Linked DNA regions of Homo sapiens: all the other regions are linked to region 2. The links are contacts of gene promoters, found by promoter capture Hi-C in blood cells and fetal thymus (Javierre and others, 2016). All regions are on one chromosome and are shown on one strand. Each heading gives the region's core, a stretch centred on a gene start or on the middle of the fragment in contact. The rest is flanking DNA. Distances are from core to core; before and after follow the strand shown.

What was found. The method cuts DNA at HindIII sites, captures the fragments that hold promoters and counts their contacts. A CHiCAGO score of 5 or more calls a contact.
Region 1: a contact is called between a fragment that was not itself captured here and the fragment with the promoter of ELN-AS1 in region 2, in 5 of 17 cell types (neutrophils, total B cells, naive B cells and 2 more). The highest score is 13.7, in neutrophils.
Region 3: a contact is called between a fragment that was not itself captured here and the fragment with the promoter of ELN-AS1 in region 2, in 2 of 17 cell types (naive B cells and neutrophils). The highest score is 8.3, in naive B cells.

What each region holds. Positions count from the first base shown.
Region 1 is chr7:74,377,457-74,381,562 of GRCh38, forward strand. CLIP2 (CAP-Gly domain containing linker protein 2) reads left to right here. Exons shown (of 17, transcript NM_003388.5): 11 at 3,350-3,407. Among named protein-coding and RNA genes, the nearest start is that of GTF2IRD1, 74 kb to the right of the region's middle. RefSeq lists enhancers at 2,844-3,344, 3,345-3,845. The HindIII fragment of the contact is 8,624 bases long and covers 1-4,106 here.
Region 2 is chr7:74,060,990-74,064,901 of GRCh38, forward strand. It overlaps ELN-AS1 (ELN antisense RNA 1), which reads right to left and starts at 1,291. Exons shown (of 2, transcript NR_183555.1): 1 at 1,221-1,291. It overlaps ELN (elastin), which reads left to right. Exons shown (of 33, transcript NM_000501.4): 26 at 112-150; 27 at 2,164-2,235; 28 at 2,321-2,380; 29 at 2,632-2,706. RefSeq lists enhancers at 625-1,125, 1,126-1,626, 1,170-1,464 and a silencer at 1,267-1,459. The HindIII fragment of the contact is 2,959 bases long and covers 834-3,792 here.
Region 3 is chr7:74,417,651-74,421,595 of GRCh38, forward strand. No RefSeq gene overlaps it. Among named protein-coding and RNA genes, the nearest start is that of GTF2IRD1, 34 kb to the right of the region's middle. The HindIII fragment of the contact is 1,814 bases long and covers 471-2,284 here.

The DNA.
Region 1 (4,106 bases), core at 420-2,919, 320 kb after region 2:
TCAGCTGAACCCATCCTCCCAGCCCCTCTGAGGAGGTCAACACCCAGGTGGGCTGTGCCCACTCCACCAGGGCCAGGAAGGGCCTTTTGAGTGGCTCTGGGTACCACGTCTTATGCCAGGCCCTATGTGACTCCATTTCACCTTAACATCCTTAGATTGATACTGGCTCCATTTCACAGGTGAGCAAACCAAGACTTTCCCAGGTCCACAGCCTCTCAGTGGCAGAGATGTTCAACCCCATTCCCTGTGGGGCTGACAGAGAGTGCCCAAGACAACAGGAATTAATTCATAGGAGGGATGGCTAGCAACGGACTCTTGCCTGTATACAAATTGTACTCAGAGATTCTTGAGTTTCCAGTTCCCCCACATACATTTTTTTTTTTTTTGAGATGGAGTTTTGCTCTTGTTGCCCAGGCTGGAGTGCAGTGGTGGGATCTCGGCTCACTGCAACCTCCGCCTCCCAGGTTCAAGCAATTCTCCTGTATCAGCCTCCCAAGTAGCTGCAATTACAGGCATGCACCACCACGCCCAGCTAATTCTTATATTTTTAGTAGAGGTGGGGTTTCGCCAGGTAGTCCAGGCTGGTCTCAAACTCCTGACTTCAGGTGATCTGCCCGCCTCGGCCTCCCAAAGTGCTGGGATTACAGGCGTGAGGCACCATCCCTGGCCTTTTTTTTGGTTTTGTTTTTGAGACAGGGTCTTGTTCTGTCTCCCAGGCTGGAGTGCAGTGGCATGATCATGGCTCACTACAGTCTCAACCTCCCAGGCTTGAGCGAGCCTCCCACTTCAGCCTTCCAAGTCGCCAGGACCACAGGTGTGCCCCACCACACCTGGCTAATTTTTATAGTTTTTGTAGAGATGGGGTTTCCTCATGTTGCCCAGGCTGGTCTCAAACTCCTGGGCTCAAGCTGTCTGCCCGCCTTTGCCTCCCAAAGTGCTGGGATTACAGGGAGTAGGTACTGCACCTGACCACCCTCATGTATATTCAAACCAGAATTTAGGGGTGGGTGTGGTGGCTCACACCTATAATTCCAGCATTTCGAGAGGCTGAGGCAGGAGGATTGCTTCAGGCCAGGAGTTTGAGACCAGCCTGGACAACATAGTTAGACCCCATCTCTACAAAAATAAAAAATTAGCCGAGTACAGTGGTAGTGTACCTGTAGTCCCCAGCTACGCTGGAGGCTGAGGCAAGAGGATCACTTGAGCCCAGGTGTTTGAGGCTGCAGTGAGCTATGATTGCACCACTGCACTCCAGCCTGAGTGACAGTGTGAGGCTGTGACTCAAGAAAATACACAAACCAAAAAAACCCGAGAATTTAGCATGTGGGCAGTAAGTTCTCAGGACTAATGAATCCAGGGGGCTTTTTTTGTCTAAAAGGAAATCTTTTTGCATCATGCCTTGAGGTCCCTTGTAATGGCCTTCCTGCCCCTTCTCCCAGGAAGGGATTTTGTTTTTTAGCAAGTGCTCTTCCAGGATCCTGGGCTGAAAGAAAAGGAAGAAACCCAAATTAGCTTACGTGCACATGGCCTGATTAGCTGTTCAGGGCAGGCAGAAACAGCCTGCAACTCAGGAACTGAATTCCCTGAGCGGGGAGGTTTGAGGTTGCTGTGGTTCCACAGAGCATGGGGGACAGAGGCCTGAGGATGCCTCCCCCAGTCCCTGCCCCTCATTCACAGGTGCCCTTGGACCAAGAAGTAGTAGTGGCCCCAGAAAGCCCATCTCCTGGCCGGGCGCGGTGGCTCACACCTGTAATCCCAGCTACTCAGGAGGCTGAGGCACAAGGATTACTTGAACCCGGGACGTGGAGGTTGCAGTGAGCCAAGATCGTGCCACTGCACTCCGGCCTGGGCAACAGAGGGAGACTCCGTCTGGAAAAAAAAAAAAAAGCCCATCTCTTGATTTTCTGTATACACTGGGGCTTAGTCTAAACGCATATGTCCCCATGTTCAGAGGTTTAGGCCTAAGCACAACTGGACTTTTGGTCTCAGGTAGTAAATATGGGAATTTTAAAAATTATTTTAGTGGCCAGGTGCTGTGGCTCACACCTGTAATCCCAGCACTTTGGGATGCCAAGGCAGGTGGATCACCTGAGGTCAGGAGTTTGAGACCAGCCTGGCCAACATGGTGAAAACCCGTCTCTACTAAAAATACAAAAAATTAGCCGGGCATGGTGGCGGGCGCCTGTAGTCCCAGCTACTCGGGAGGCTGAGGCAGGAGAATCGCTTCAGAGTCCTGGAGGCAGAGGTTGCAGTGAGCCGAGATCACGCCACTGCACTCCAGCCTGGGCGACGGAGTGAGACTCCATCTCAAAAAATAATAATAAAAAAACCCCAAAATTAGCTGGGCGTGGTGGTGGGCACCTGTAATCCCAGCTACTCGCTCGGGAGGCCGAGGCAGGAGAATCGCTTGAACCCGGGAGGTGGAGGTTGCAGTGAGCTGAGATTGAGCCATTGCACTCTAGCCTGGATATCAGGGCGAGACTCCTTCTCAAAAAAAAAGAAAAAGAAAAATTTAGTGTGAGCCTCATTACTGCATCGTATATAAATTATGATCCAAGGGGCTTAGTTCATTACAACTAATTGAGACTCAAATGGGACTTGGGATGTATGAACAGAAGTATGAGGGGCAGGATGATAGAGGTGACTGCCTACTCAGCTCTGTGCTTCCCTGATCTGCAGTGCCAGACTCTGGCTGGCTCGGAGGACAGCCAGCCTGGGCAGGAGACTGGAAACTCCTGCCAAGAGTGGCAGGGAGCCTATTGGTTGTGTTTTGACTTTTGTCATAGTGATGTGTGCCAGGCTGATTTTTTTTTTTAATAGGTCTTTTCTTCTTTGGCCTCTGGGTTTATTATTAAAAAGAAATGTTGGAGAGAAAGAAGCTAGCATTTAATGAAGTCCCTCCAGGAGGTGGCCCCAAGCACGCTGTGCACACACTAACCCAAAGCAGCCAATATTTGTTTGATGGATGGGAAACTGAGGCCAGAAGTCTTGTCTCTGGGAGACAGAGAAACAAATTCCCAGGACAAATTTCTGTAGGCATTGCAGGGAAGGAGCCATCTGTTTAATATAATAAACATTTTCAACAAAGGAAGGGTAGGAGGTATTCATGTATAAGCTGCACAGGCGGCCTTCAGCAGAGCTGGGTGCAGAATGGGGGTCCTCTGTTGTCAGGGAGGTCCGACTGAGGACGTCTGCACTCCCTGCCACCGCAGCAAGTCCCTGAGTCCGTCACTGAGGTCCCCCTTTGTAGGAGTAGGGTGTGCAAACTGCAGGTGTGCTTGCTGGGCTGGCTGGGGCTGGGGCCAAGGGGCAGAGGTGAGCATCCCCCTTACAGGGGCTCTTTTTGCAGATGATTGAGTCGAATGACATTTCAGAGGAGACGATCAGGACGAAGGAAACTGTGGAGGGTGAGTGGCCACCAGGCCGGGCGGGACTCTGGGCTCTGGGAAGAGGCTGGCTGGCTCTGCCTTCCTGCTGGGTCACATTTTGGTTTGCATCATCTGCCATTTGGTAAGAGTCACCTCCTGTGTGCTGTGAGCTATGTACTCCTGCAAGGGAGGAGGCCAGTTTACGGAGGGATAGGCATTGCACCAGCCTTCCAAGTTGCTGTCTTTTTTTTCTTTTTCTTTTGAAACAGATTTAACGGAATAGTAAACTTAATGGAATATCAAACCTTATTATTTGTTTGGTTTATATTTTATTTTTATTTATTTATTTAGTTTATACTTTACTTTTATTTATTTATTTATTTTAGACGGAGTTTCGCTCTGTCGCCAGGCTGGAGTACAGTGGTGTGATCTCAGCTCACTGCAACCTCCAACTCCCTGGTTCAAGCGATTCTCCTGCCTCAGCCTCCCGAGTAGCTGGGATTACAGGCATGCACCACCATGCCCAGCTAATTTTTGTATTTTTAGTAGAGACGGGGTTTCACCATGTTGACCAGGGTGGTCTCGATCTCCTGACTGCGTGATCCGCCCGCCTTGGCCTCCCGAAGTGTTGGGATTACAGGCATGAGCCACCGTGCCTAGCTGGTTTAAACTTTAAAAACAGGTCTAAACTTCAAATGGTTCAAAGGGCATATGGCAAACTAACTCTTCACTGTTCTC
Region 2 (3,912 bases), core at 41-2,540:
AGGAAGCAATAGAGGCCAAGGAAGTCAGGGAGGGCTCTCTAGAGGAGGCGGCAGAACTCCCAGGCACAGAGCTCGGCTCCTGACCACTCCCCAACTTTTCTTTCTCCCCAGTACCTGGAGCCCTGGCTGCCGCTAAAGCAGCCAAATATGGTGAGTGCACCCCACAACCACTTGTGGCTCCCTTGCCACCACACCATCCCTGACAGCACAGGACTGGGGTGGTCACAATAGAAAAAGGCAGTTTCGGCCGGGCGTGGTGGCTCACACCTGTAATCCCAGCACTTTGGGAGGCCGAGGCAGGCAGATCACCTGAGGTCAGGAGTTCCAGACCAGCCTGAACAATATGGTTAAACCCCATCTCTACTAAAAATTCAAAAATTAGCCAGGCGTGGTGGCGGGCACCTGTAATCCCAGCACTTTGGGAGGCCGAGGTGGGCAGATCAACTGAGGTCGGGGGTTCCAGACCAGCCTGACCAATATGGTGAAACCCCATCTCTACTAAAAACACAAAAATTAGCCAGGTGTGGTGGCGGGCACCTGTAATCCCAGCTACTCGGGAGGCTGAGGCAGGAGAATCGCTTGAACCCAGGAGATGGAGGTTGCAGTGAGCCGAGATCACGCCACTGCACTCCGGCCTGGACGACAGAGCGAGACTGTATCTCAAAAAAAGAAAAGAAAAGAAAAAGAAAAAGGCAGTTTCTAGGACACGTTTATGACAGTTTAAAAACCTGGCCCCTGCCCACTAAATGCTTATGGTGCCTTCAACCCCTGTGACCACCAAAAACACCCTTGAAATCCCAGTTGCCCCCCAGGAGGCAATTCCACCATCCCTAAGCTTGCCCTGACCCTGACAGTTACATGGTCCCTGTGTCCAGGAAGGGACTGGGCCTGCTGTGGGTATGAGGAGTCTGGGCAGTCTCTGCCTCCACCCCAGCTCTCTGGCCCGAGCAAAGGAGCTGGTATTCCTCATCTGGGCACCCCGGGCCCCCGCCCGCCTTCCTGTCCTGCCAGCAGGACCGCTCCCACCACGAGCCAGCCCAGAGGACGTGGCAGTCCCACAGCCTCTGCACTTGGCGCTCTGGCAGCCCTGCCTGGCCAGACCCACGCTGTCTGTAGCCCCTGAATTCCTGGCCTCCTGTGAGCAGCGTTGGTGGGAGGTGGAAGACTCCCCCAGGGATCCACCAACCAGCCGGGCAGGTCCACTTGGGGCCAGTTTCTACCTCGGAAAATCCTGGCTTCCTCAGCGCCGACCCCCAGCAGCCCTGGCCTCCTCCCCTGCTCACTGCTGACTGCTTGGCAGGCCTGAGTCAACAGACATTGCCAGGGAAACAGAGTGACGTCATGTGGTGGAGCCGCGAAGGGCGCAGGCTCCCCAGCCACTTCCCGTCCCTGAAGCCCTGAGCACACTGCTTAACCTCTGCTCTGCCTCAGCGTTCTCATCTGCAAAATGGGAATGACAATAGTGCCTACCTTTCCTGCTGCAATGCATAAAAAATGGGCTGCTAAGTGTGAAGCACTCAAAATGTTAAGTGCCTGCTGTAGATACTATTACCGTTGTTTGTTTGTTTGTTTGTTTGTTTTGACAGAGTCTTGCTCTGTCGCCCAGGCTGGAATGCAGTGGTACGATCTTGGCTCCCTGCAGCCTCCATCTCCCGGGTTCAAGTGATTCTCCTGCCTCAGCCTTCCAAGTAGCTGGGATTACAGGCGCCCGCCACCACGCCTGGCTAATTTTTGTATTTTTCGTAGAAACAGGGTTTCACCGTGTTGGCCAGGCTGGTCTCAAACTCCTGACCTCAGGTGATCCACTAGCCTCAGCCTCCCAAAGTGCTGGGATTACAGGTGTGAGCCACCGCACCCGGCTTACAAAAGAACTTTTAAGGCCAGGCACAGTGGTTCACACCTTCGGGAGGCTAAGGCAGGAGGATCGCATGAGCCCAGGAGTTGGAGGCTGCAGTGAACTATGATTGTACCACTGCACTCCAGCCGGGGTGACAGAGCAAAACCCCATCTCAAAATGAAACAAAATATGGACTGGACTTCCTGTCCACTGCTCCTCCACAGTGTCACATGGCCCCTGCCACCTGTCTGCTTGCCTTGTGTCCCTGGGGCAGGGAGACCCATCGTTCAGAAATGGAACACTCATTTTCCCTCCTCTCCCCGCAGGAGCAGCAGTGCCTGGGGTCCTTGGAGGGCTCGGGGCTCTCGGTGGAGTAGGCATCCCAGGCGGTGTGGTGGGTGAGTTGAAACCCCAGGAGGGGCAGGGTGGGGAGGGAATCTAACCAGTACAGAGTGCCTCCCTGAACTCGGTCTGTGTTCCCAGGAGCCGGACCCGCCGCCGCCGCTGCCGCAGCCAAAGCTGCTGCCAAAGCCGCCCAGTTTGGTGAGCACTGGGTGGAGGTGGGAGCTGCCGCCAGGCCCCCAGGCCCCCAGGGTGTGGGAGGAGCTTCTGACCAGGCACTGTAGACTCAGAGTCCCTGCCCCAGACACCTCCTGGCTCCACTGTGCCATCGAAGGCCAGGGGAGACCTCAGGCTCCACCTGTGTCCCCAGAGGACACCTCCGCCCTCCACAGGCCGAGGCTTCAGTCCCACCTTTCTGACCAGCGGAGTCTAATGCTCAGCTGTCTCCACAGGCCTAGTGGGAGCCGCTGGGCTCGGAGGACTCGGAGTCGGAGGGCTTGGAGTTCCAGGTGTTGGGGGCCTTGGAGGTGAGAGTTGTTCTGAAATCAGTGAGTGTGTGTGGTGTGTGTATGCGAGACAGAGATGGAGACAGAGACAGAGACAGAGACTTTCGTTCCCACCCCTGGCACGTCTTTGCTCAAGATGTCCTCTTGGCCAGGTGCGGTGGCTCACGCCTGCAATCCCAGCACTCTAGTAGGCCAAGGTGGGCGGATCACTAGAGGTGAGGAGTTTGAGACCAGCCTGGGTGACATGGCGAAACCTCATCTCTACCAAAAATACAAAAATAAGCCGGGCGTGGTGGTGGGCACCTGTATTTCCAGCTACTTGAGAGGCTGAGGCCAGAGGATCGCTTGAGCCCAGGAGGCAGAGGCTGCAGTGAGCTGAGATGGTACCACTGCATTCCAGCTTGGGCAGCAGAGTGAGACCCTGTCATCTAAAAAAAAAAAAGAAAGAAAGAAAAGAAAAGAGGCCAGGCATGGTGGCTCACGCCTGTGATCCCAGCACTTTGGGAGGCTGAGGTGGGCAGATCACGAGGTCAGATCAAGACCATCCTGGCTAACACAGTGAAACCCCGTCTCTACTAAAAATACAAAAAATTAGCTGGGCGTGGTGGCAGACGCCTGTAGTCCCAGCTACTCAGGAGGCTGAGGCAGAAGAATGGCGTGAACCTGGGAGGCGGAGCTTGCAGTGAGCCGAGATCGCGCCACTGCACTCCAGCCTGGGCGACAGAGCGAGACTCCGTCTCAAAAAAAAAATATATATATATATATATATATGTATGTATGTATGTATATAAATTAGCTGGGCATGGTGACACACGCCTGTAATCCCAGCTACTCGGGAGCCTGAGACAGGAGAATCACTTGAACCCAGGAGGCAGAAGTTGCAGTGAGCCAAGATCACGCCGCTGCACTCCAGCCTGAGCAACAGAGCAAGACCTCATCCCAAAACAAAATAAAAACAAGAAATGTGGCAAACGGGAGCTGGGGCTATCCCTTGCCGCCAGGGTCCCAGTCCTCCCCCTCTCCTCTCTCTTTCAACCCACCTGACCACTGCGGTGGGAGTAAATTAGGAGAATGATGGTTATGCCAGTTCTCCAAGAAAGAAATCAAAGCTTGGAGAGAAATTGCTTTCCCTAAGTCTCCACCATGGTGGCCGACCTTGTGTGGCCATTTCCCCCTTTCTTGGGCTGTCATTGTGTCTCCCCCTGTAAACTAGCCTGCACAGCTCTT
Region 3 (3,945 bases), core at 128-2,627, 360 kb after region 2:
ACACAGGCCAGCTTTGCACGTGGGAGCAACAACGGGGACCCAGGTGTCCCGGCTCCTAGTCCCAGAGCTCCCTGTCCCTGTTGCCTCCCAGACTTGGTTCAGGCCTCTCTGTGAGTATCCGTGTGTGTCCACACTTCCATCCCTGGGAGAGAGGCCGGCCAGGGCGTGGACATTCATTCCCTCTCTGGGACCGTGCCGGGCCAGGACTGTCCTGGCCTCCCTCCTCCCGCACAGCACTGCCTCCCCTCCCCGCAGGCTGGGCTCCCTCCACAGAGCTGACCCTGGCCTACTTTCTCAGTCCTGAACCCTCCCATCACGTCCCCCTTGCCAACCTCAGCTGGGCAGTCACCCTGGTCCCGCTCCCACTCCCCAAGAGAGGCTGGGAAGTGTTTTGAGACTGAAGTTGGGGTCCAGTGTAAATTCAGAAGGAACATGGTATAGGACGAATAACCAGGATGCTCACTTCTAGAAGCTTCTCTGGAACCTTGGGTAAGGCTGTGGGCCCTTTCTCTGGAGCTACCAGCAAAGGGAAGGACTTGCTGCCTCCAGGGTGGCTCCAGCCCCGTCTAGACCCCCTCCCAGCCACCCTCTCCCGCTGCCACAATTTCCAGCTGGCCCCACGCACAGCTGTGCCTCGGTTTCCCAGCAGCCCCAAGCCTGGAGTTCACCAGGAGCACCTTCACAGCCCCGCACCGGGTCCGCAGCCTGGGGTCCATCATATTCATCACACTCTGGGCCCTGTCCCCCACCCCCAGCTCAGGCCTCAGATCCTGCCTCCAACCCCACACCCCCAGGCCTTTCCAAGTGACCCACACACATGCATGGGCACACACACACAGATACATACACACATACACAGAGACACACATACATGTACACATCATATATATATACACGCACACAGAGACACATATAAACATGCACACACGTACACACATACATGTACACACGTACACACATGCATACACATATACATACACAAACACATACATACACAAACACTATAGACACGTACACAGACACACACAAATACGTACACATACACAAAAACTCATACACATACACAAACACGTACATACACAGACACACAAACACTACAGACACATGTACACACGGACAAATACACATACACACAGACACACATACATGTACACATATACACATGTACACAGGTACACACGCACATACACACGTTACACACAAAGAGATGTATACTCACATACACAAACATGCACATATATACACACAAACAATATACATACACATACACATACACACACGCATATACATGCATATACATCCACACTTGTGCACACATACACACATGCACACACACACACTTTTTCTTCACGGCCTGCAGAGACGCGCCCATCGGGGACTTGATTCACACCTCTCTCCCTAGAGGGGAGTGCTCTGTGTGCACCGCAACATATCTCTAACCTCTTTTTTTAAATTGACAAAAATTGTATCTATTTATGGTGTGCAATATGATGTTTTGAAATATGTATAAAGTGTGGACCAGCTACATCAAGCTAATTAGCATATGCATTACCTCATTTGTCTTTTTGTGGGGAGTGTGCTGAGAACGCTTAAAATCCACTGTCTTGGTACTTTGCAAGTTTAGAACACATTGTTATCAAGGATAGCCACCATGTTGTACTTGGATCTCTTGAACTTAGTCCTCCTAACTGAAATTTTTGTGTGTTTTTTTCCTTGTGTGTGTGTGACAGAGTCTCACTCTGTTGCCCAGGCTGGAGTGCAGTGGTGCAATCAGCTCACTGCAGCCTTCATCTCTGGGCTCAAGCCGTCCTCCTGCCTCAGCCTTCCAAGTAGCTGGGACTACAGGTGTGCACCACCATGCCCAGCTAATTGTTTGTATTTTTAGAGAGATGGGGTTTTGCCATGTTGCCCAGGCTGGTCTCGAACTCTTGGGCTCAAACGATTGGCCTGTCTCAGCCTCCTAGATTGCTGGGATTACAGGCATGAGCCACCACTGCCACCCCCACATCTCTGACTCTCAGCCCAGGGCGTGGCACACAGGTGCCCACGAGTGGCTGTCAGACGGATTGATCAATTCCACCACTGCACAAACTTCCATCTTCAATCTTGCACTCCACCTCAACTGCTCTCCCAGAGCTCCAGACACTGCCAGGTTGCCCCCGCATCCTGACAAACTGTCCTCTTTCTGTACCCTTTCCAAGTCATCTAATTGTCCTCATTTTTGTTTTTTTTTTTTTTTTTTTGTAATTTGAGTTTATTTGACCATCTTGATCCGAAATGTTCAAGCTTTTGGCTATAGTTTTCTTCATTTATTTATTCAATATTTTTTAGTAACTCTATTAATTAATTGATTTCCTTCCTTCCTTCCCTCCCTCCCTCCTTCCCTCCCTCCCTCCTTCCCTCCCTCCCTCCTTCTCTTCTTCCTTCCCTCCTCCCTCCCTGCCTCCTTCCTTTCTGCCCACCCACTTTCTTTCTTTCCTTCTTTCTTTCTTTTTCTTTCTTTCCTTTCTTTCTTTCTTTTTTCTTTCTTTTTCTTTCCTTCCTTCTTTCTTTCTCTTTCTTCTTTCTCTTTCTTTCTCTCTTTCTCTCTCTTTCTTTCTTTCTCTTTCCTCCCTTCCTTTATCTCTTTTTCTTTCTTTCTTTTTCCTTCTTTATTTTGAAGTGGAGTCCCGCTCTGTCACCCAAGCTGGAGTGCAGTGGCGCAATCTCTGTTCACTGCAACCTCTGCTTCCCGTGTTCAAGCGATTCTCCTGCCTCAGCCTCCCAAGTAGCTGGGATTACAGGCATGCGCCACCACGCCCAGCTAATTTTGTATTTTTAGTAGAGTCAGGGTTTCACCATGTTGGTTAGGCTGGTCTCAACTCCTAACCTCAGGTGATCCACCCAGAATTGTTTTCTTTAAAACAACTTTTCTGTACTGGACATGGTGGCTCACACCTGTAATCTGGCACTTTGGGAGGTCGAGGCGGGAGGATTGCTTGAGCTTAGGAGTTCGAGACCAGCCTGGGCAACATGGTGAAACCCCAGGCATGGCGGCACATGTCTGTAATCCCAGCTACTGGGGAGGCTGACGTGGGAGGATCACCTGAGTCCAGGAGGCCGAGGCTGCAGTGAGCCATGATCATGCCACTGCCCTCCAGCCTGGATGACAGAGCGAGACCCTGTCTCAAATAAATAAATAATAAATAAATAAATAAAGCTGTTTTTCTTTCTTTCTTTCTTTCTTTCTTTCTTTCTTTCTTTCTTTCTTTCTTTCTTTCGTTTGTTCTTTCTTTCCTTCCTTCTTTCTTTCTTTTATTTCAGTCCTCTTTACTTGAAAGTTTATCTCTTGTTCAGAAAATAAATATGGGCCAGGTGCGGTGGCTCATGCCTGTAATCCTAGCACTCTGGGAGGCTGAAGCAGGAGGCTCACTTGAGCCCAGGAGCTGGAGATCAGTCTGGGCAACATAGTGAGACACTGTATCTTTTTGGGGATTTTTTGGACAGAGTCTTGCTCTGTCGCCAGGCTGGAGTGCAGTGGCGTGACCTTGGCCCTCGGCTCACTGCAACCTCTGCCTCCTGAGATCAACTGATTCTCCTGCCTCAGCCTCCTGAGTAGCTGGGACTACAGGTGTGCGCCACCACACCCAGCTAATTTTTTTGTATTTTTAGTAGAGACAGGGTTTCACCATGTTGGCCAAGATGGTCTCAATCCCTTGACCTCGTGATCCCCCTGTCTCGGCCTCCCAAAGTGCTGGGATTACAGGCACGAGCCATCACGCCCTGCCTGACCCCCAGTATCTTCTTAAAGAAAAAAGAAGAAAAGAAAAGAAACAAGATATTCTTTCTCCCTAATGCCAGTTCTTCATCTGCGGTCCCCTTCTCTGCACCGTCTCTCTGTCTCCTGGGTGGTCATCTCCATCTTCTCAGACTTACGTCTTTAATGTTTGTATTTTTAATCTTTTA